Regions from separate parts of the Homo sapiens genome. Here region 1 is linked to region 2. Evidence: promoter capture Hi-C in 16 types of primary human blood cells and fetal thymus (Javierre and others, 2016). All regions are on one chromosome and are shown on one strand. Each heading gives the region's core, a stretch centred on a gene start or on the middle of the fragment in contact. The rest is flanking DNA. Distances are from core to core; before and after follow the strand shown.

Evidence for each region. Contacts are between HindIII fragments. The CHiCAGO score rates a contact against its expected background, and 5 or more counts as called.
Region 1: a contact is called between the fragment with the promoter of MDP1 here and a fragment that was not itself captured in region 2, in 1 of 17 cell types (non-activated CD4 T cells). The highest score is 6.5, in non-activated CD4 T cells.

What each region holds. Positions count from the first base shown.
Region 1 is chr14:24,214,509-24,217,548 of GRCh38, forward strand. MDP1 (magnesium dependent phosphatase 1) reads right to left here and starts at 1,558. Exons shown (of 6, transcript NM_138476.4): 1 at 1,411-1,558; 2 at 1,229-1,289; 3 at 1,044-1,154; 4 at 1-91. The coding sequence starts at 1,447. It overlaps NEDD8-MDP1 (NEDD8-MDP1 readthrough), which reads right to left. Exons shown (of 7, transcript NM_001199823.3): 4 at 1,044-1,154; 5 at 1-91. It overlaps NEDD8 (NEDD8 ubiquitin like modifier), which reads right to left. Exons shown (of 4, transcript NM_006156.3): 4 at 2,349-2,715. The coding sequence ends at 2,619. RefSeq lists enhancers at 284-1,022, 1,435-1,604. The HindIII fragment of the contact is 6,893 bases long and covers 1-3,040 here.
Region 2 is chr14:21,260,515-21,263,612 of GRCh38, forward strand. HNRNPC (heterogeneous nuclear ribonucleoprotein C) reads right to left here. Exons shown (of 9, transcript NM_004500.4): 2 at 2,797-2,822. Among named protein-coding and RNA genes, the nearest start is that of HNRNPC, 7.4 kb to the right of the region's middle. The HindIII fragment of the contact is 6,125 bases long and covers 1-3,098 here.

The sequences.
Region 1 (3,040 bases), core at 308-2,807, 3.0 Mb after region 2:
CTTGCTGCCTGGATAGATTTCCCGATGAACAAAGTACCTGAAGAGGTCAAAGAGCTCCAGTAGCTGGTTGGCCCCTTCTATCTCACTTGTCCTGCAAAACGGTGTAAAAGATGGGATTAGCAAAGTGAAGGGCCAGGGCTACGTTAACTTATTAAGCAAAGTTAGTAAGTATAACCAGGGAAATCAACTTGCTGTTTTTCCGGGATGGACAGGCATCCTCAGCCTCTGTTTAACTCCATTGCCTTCCTATTTGACACAATTGGTGCTGGGCCAATGTTTTAGCTTTTGTTTTGAGACAGGGTCTAGCTCTGTTGCCCAGACTGGAGTGCAGCGACCCAATCACGGCTCACTGTGGTCACGACCTCCTGGGCTCAAGTGATCCTCCCACCTCAGCCTCCCAAGTAGCTGGGACTACAGGTGCACGCCACTACAATTTTTTTTTTTTTTTTGGTAGAGATAGGGTCTCCCTCTATTGCCTAGGCTGGTCTCAAATTCCTGGGCTCAAGTGATCCTCCCACCTAGGCCTCCCAAAATGCTAAGATTACAGGTGTGAGTCACTGTGTCTGGCCCCACTTTTTTTTTTTTTTTTTTTTTTGAGACATTGTCTCACTCTGTCACCCAGGCTGAAGTGCAGTGGCTCCATCTCAGCTCACTGCAACCTCCGCCTCCCGGGTTCAAGCGATTCTCCTGCCTCAGCCTCCCGAGTAGCTAGGATTACAGGTGCGTGCCACCACGCCCTGCTAATTTTTGTATTTTTAGTAGAGACGGGGTTTCACCATGTTGATCAGGCTGGTCTTGAACTCCCGATCTCGTGATCCACCCGCCTCGGCCTCCCAAAGTGCTGGGATTACAGACGTGAGCCACCGCGCCCGCCTGCTGGCCCCACTTTTTAATAGTTAAAAGGCACAGGAGAGCGTTCAAGGGAAAAAATATGTAAATACTTGGAAACTTGCACCGCCCCTATTTTTGTAGACCAGGGGTTTCACTGTCTCTTGCATGCACCCTTCAGCATTACACTGTCAGTTGTCAGTCGCTCTTCTTACCTTGAAGCAGCCGCACCGGGCACCCCAAGGCTCTGCAATCGTTTTAGGACCTCAGGCACCTCTGGGTACAGTCGGACGTCTTGGCCCCGCCTATCTCGTACAGTTCCATCACTGGAGAGGGCAAGAGTGCGCTCAGCCCTGGCTGGGTCCTATCTCGCCCCCAGTCTTCCCTGTCCCTACCTCACCTGCTCTTATGGAACGGAGGGTCTACGTGCGTGTCGACCCAGAAAGGCCAGAGAGTGTAATCTGCGAGAGGAAGGAGAGGGAAGGTTCAGCCTGGGGCGGGAGATGCAGGGATTCGGGAGCTGCTGTTAGGGATGTGGAAAAGGAGAGCACCTTACGAAATTCTCCCCTTCCCGTCCCTCACCCAAATCAAAGACTGCCAGCTTCGGTAGCCGCGCCATGACCCGCACCGCAGGCTGCGCGCAGCAGAGGTGGGGCTTCACCCGGGGCCTTAGAGAGTGCGGAACCTCCGGCAGCTAAGGCAGCCACCCTGCCTGCCATAGACAAATGGCGACTAGAGCGTCGCCACTCGGGGCGTCATCAGCCTGGAGATGGCGCAAGAGTGCCATCTGATGCTGGGCGGGGAAGAGGATTGCAGCGAGGTACCAACACGACCACACATGCAACCACAGCAGTCAAGTCTTTCTAAGGCATTGGCCACGGGCATCCTCCCTACTTCTCCACTCCACCCAGCCTTGCCCGATTCTATTATACTAAGAAGCCAGGGAAGAAGGAAAGCCTTTTCTTCTAGCACCTGCCTCTTCTTGAGACCCAAGTGATACATCACAGCTTGTCACTCAATCTTTCTGCATTATCAACCTCCTGACAGTGTAGAACCCAAAGTCCTCAGTAATATTCCAGCCATAGAGTACAGTGTCAGCCAAACCCTTGAAGGCGTTCTCCAACCAGGCCTAAATGTCCAGTACAGCCACAGTCAAGAGAGAATTCACTCTCCGAAGGTTTCACCATCCATGTCAGCACTACACTGGTAGATGTATAACAACCAGTTTGTGGGGAGGAACTGATCTGTAGTGTTTGCTAGTTTCTGTAAATAATCCTACCATGGCCAATTTCAAGCTACCAACATGAAGTCACTTAATAGAGTTGGAAAAAGGTGCCAATAATTGGCTCTCATTAGCCACTAGGAACTGGTTCCAACACACCACTAAGTAGGTTTTCCTAGAGTCTGATAATCCCCGTAAGAGCACCATTCCTTCCACTGTCCGATTCCTTCAGCCTGCTATAACTGAGTGAGCATTAGGTCCATTTTTATTTCAGTCAACTTGTGCAACAGAAGAAAGATTCCAGGAGGCCAGGAAATATTTTATTGACAACCAGGGACACAGTCATAAGAGAGGGAAGCACACAGGACTGCAAACTAACACCCAGTAGCCAGCAAGGGCCCTCTGGGCCAGGAATACTGAATCCTGGGATCCTCACAGTCTCCCACCAGTAGACATACATTACTGGGCATCCAGGGGAGGGGGCAGTGGCTATGGTGTCCCAGAGAGTGAGAGGATATATGATGCCTCATTATGAGCGACAGGGTAAAGAGGTAAAATGGAGGGTCCATCACTGCCTAAGACCACCTCCTCCTCTCAGAGCCAACACCAGGTGAAGGACTGAACCACCTAAAATCTTGTAATCAGCTGCTGTCTTCTCATCATTCCTGCAGGAAAAGGAAGCCAGAAAAAAAAGAAAAAGAAGACTTAGGAGTTTTTTGTTGTTGTTGTTGTTGTTGTTGTTGTTGTTTTTGACAGAGTCTCGCTCTGTCATCTAGGCTGGAGTACAGTGGCACGATCTCAGCTCACTGCAACTTCCACCTCCTGGGTTCAAGCAATTCTCCTGCTTCAGCCTCCTGAGTAGCTGGGATTACAAGCGCCCACCACCACGCCCAGCTAATTTTTGTATTTTTAGTAAAGATGGGGTTTCACCATGTTGGCCAGGCTGGTCTCGAACTCCTGACCTCAGGTGATCCACCCCCTTCAGCCTCC
Region 2 (3,098 bases), core at 543-3,042:
TTTTTAAAAAGAGATGGGGTCTCGCTGGGTGCGGCAGCTCACACCTGTGATCCCAAAACTTCAGGAGGCTGAGGCGGGTGGATCACCTGAGGTCAGGAACTTGAGACCATCCTGGCCAACATGGCATCTCTACTGAACCCTGTCTCTACTAAAAATAGAAAAATTTAAGGCCAGGTGCAGTGGCTCATGCCTGTAATTCCAGCACTTTGGGAGGCCGAGGCGGGCAGACCATGAGATCAGGAGTTTGAGACCAGCCTGGCCAACATGGTGAAACCTCGTCACTACTAAAAATACAGAAATTAGCCGTGCATGGTGGTCCGTGCCTGTAGTCTCAGCTACTCGGGAGGCTGAGGCAGGAGAATCGCTTGAACCCGGGAGGTGGAGGTTGCAGTGACCCAAGATGGCACCACTGCACTCCAGCCTGGGAAACAGAGCGAGACTGTCTCAAAAAAAAAAAAAAAAAAAAAGATGGGGTCTCATTATGTTGCCCAGCCTGGAGTGCAGTGGATAATCACATCACACACTACAGTCTCTCAAATCCTGGGCCAAGGGACCCTCCTGCCTCAGCCTTCCAATTAGTTGTGACTACAGGCTTACAGGCAGGTACCAACGCCCCCAGCTTATTTTGGCATGCTTCTATAGGATATGTGTTTACCTCTCATCATATATGGACATTATTTCATTCATGTGTCTCCCTCACTAAGCTGCGAAGCCCTTAAACATAATAAACTATTTTTTATATCCCCAAACACAACATGTCCCATAAAAATAATAAATTTGTAGAATTAACAAGGAATAAATCAAACTGAACCTATAGTGAACAGCTTCCGTACACTGACAGCAGCAAAGAAGAAAAAATAGCTCTCATACAATAGAGAGCATCAATAAAACTTGCACTTATTTAAAAAATAAAGATTCCCATTCTTTTTCTAGATAACTTCCAGGAATCTTTTGCTTTTTCTCCCATTCTGTTTTGAGTGTACCTCTGGTGTTCACTTTAACTAGATTTCACTTTTCATCCGAGTATGGTATAAGGGGGCAAGTTTGTGATTTACCCTAGTACAACAGTACCGAATATGCCTTCAAAAAATTATTCCAGGTTAGGTGCAGTGGCTCATGCCTGTAATGTCAACACTTTGGGGGTGTCAAGGCAGGAGGATCGCTTGAGCCCAGGAGTTCAAGACCAGCCTAGACAACATAGCGAGACCCTGTCTCTACAAAAAATAGAAATATTTTAAAATAAAATCTAATTATCTCCCAGCTTGAAACCTATCAGAGCAACTCTAAAATGGTTATCAAAACATTTTGCTGCAGTGAGTAAAATACTACGGGTTGCTCAACTTCTCTTTGGCTATCCACATCTTTACTAATCTCTACACCATTCCTGTGAATAACACAGAATACACTCCTTCTTAACATCAGAACACATTAGAGTTCCTAATCTAGCATTAGAACTCTATGAATTCACATTAGAATTCCCAAAATCTAGCTGGGTCTTGAGTCACCACTGTAAAAGGGGTCAGCCTTAGACAGTTCCTAATTTGGATGTAGAGGTTAAACAGATTTCCCTGCTTTGTGAGGTCAAAAAGCCTACCTTTTTTCAAATTTTTAAAAGCCCTCCAGTGAGACAGCATTTTAATATTATGTTGTATCTCCTATGGTTTGACTCTTGTGAAATATTAATGAGATAAAAAGTCTAAATAGAATATAATCCAAAAATGTCACAAACCCAAGGAATATGTTAAATGACAGAAAATGTTTACTGATTTGTAACAATCTAAAAAAAGGGACTCCCCAATATGTTTTCTTGTTGCTAATCATTAAAACAAGCCACTTTCATTTTAAACTTCAGCTGCTCTTTCCAAGTATCCAAAATGTTCTAATCAGCCCAAGTTAATTAGCAACTCATATTATTCCATTAGTTTACAAATAACTGAGGTGGTCCCCCTTGGGAAACACCTCAAGATGCACACACAAAAGTTTCAAACACTTCCAGATGCTATGACCTATACACATCAGCTAAACTGTTAAACGGGTTTATTTCCTAGTCTTTGTAATGAATCCAAGTGGACCTCACACCTCTTACCATCACCCAGGAAGGGTGTGCATCTGTTCCGAAGGCCCCCCTGGCTCCAGGTCATCCTGGCTGCTGCTGCTCCAGGCTGGGCATCCATGTTGCTGCAGCTTGTGGTTTGTGAGGGGTAGTGTACAGGAAAAGCAGGATGGGATTTCAAGGGAAACAGGAGGAAGATGGCTTTCAGGGAAAATGCCATCACGATCATAAGTGTTAAGTAGTACCACACACATTTTATTGCAGCACAGTTTAAAAATTTAACAAATGAAAGATTAAAAATAAAAAAACAAAAATAAAAAAAATTAAAAATACAGACGTCCAGAGATGCTCTAAAACAGTTAAGTTAAAGATCAGGAAAAATAAGGTCATAGACTTAACAGCCAGTAAAATTCTTTTCAGTGTGGGGAAGGGGATGAGGGCAAGGGTGGGGTTGGGAGAGAAAAGGTTTACGTGATCAAACCACTTAAAAATACTAATGCCTTCGCTTTCTCTCCCAAGATGCAAAACTCCAAAGTCAATCAGGAGGCCGGAGAAATTCTTAGAAACATTCAGAAAAACTCGATTTTAATCCGGTTAAAAATCATCAGTGTCATTATCATCATCATCATCACCATCATAAGTATTAATATAATAATAATAAGTAATAGTAACTAGTAACAACAATAAAAAGGAAATCAGCGGAAAGTCAGGAAAAATGTTAAAAAAAAATTGGAATAACTTACTGTAGCTGAAGATCAAAAAAATCTCACTGTAAAAAAACAAAAATAAAAATAGCCCAGATTAGAAAAACGGGAGGTGCAAAAATGTCAAGTCAGTAAAGTTCATTTCTTTTCTCTTTCCAAAAGCAGTTTCCACAAAAACCGCAAGGATAAAGTTTTCAGTAGCAGACAAGCAAAGCCCTTTCCACATCATCAATCAATCTTAAAAATACACGAGGAAGTAGAGAGGTCAGTTTATGAGAGGCTAAAAGGCTCCTCCTCCTCTAACCCAACTGCTGCAGAAAAAATAGAAATAGAAATTTTAA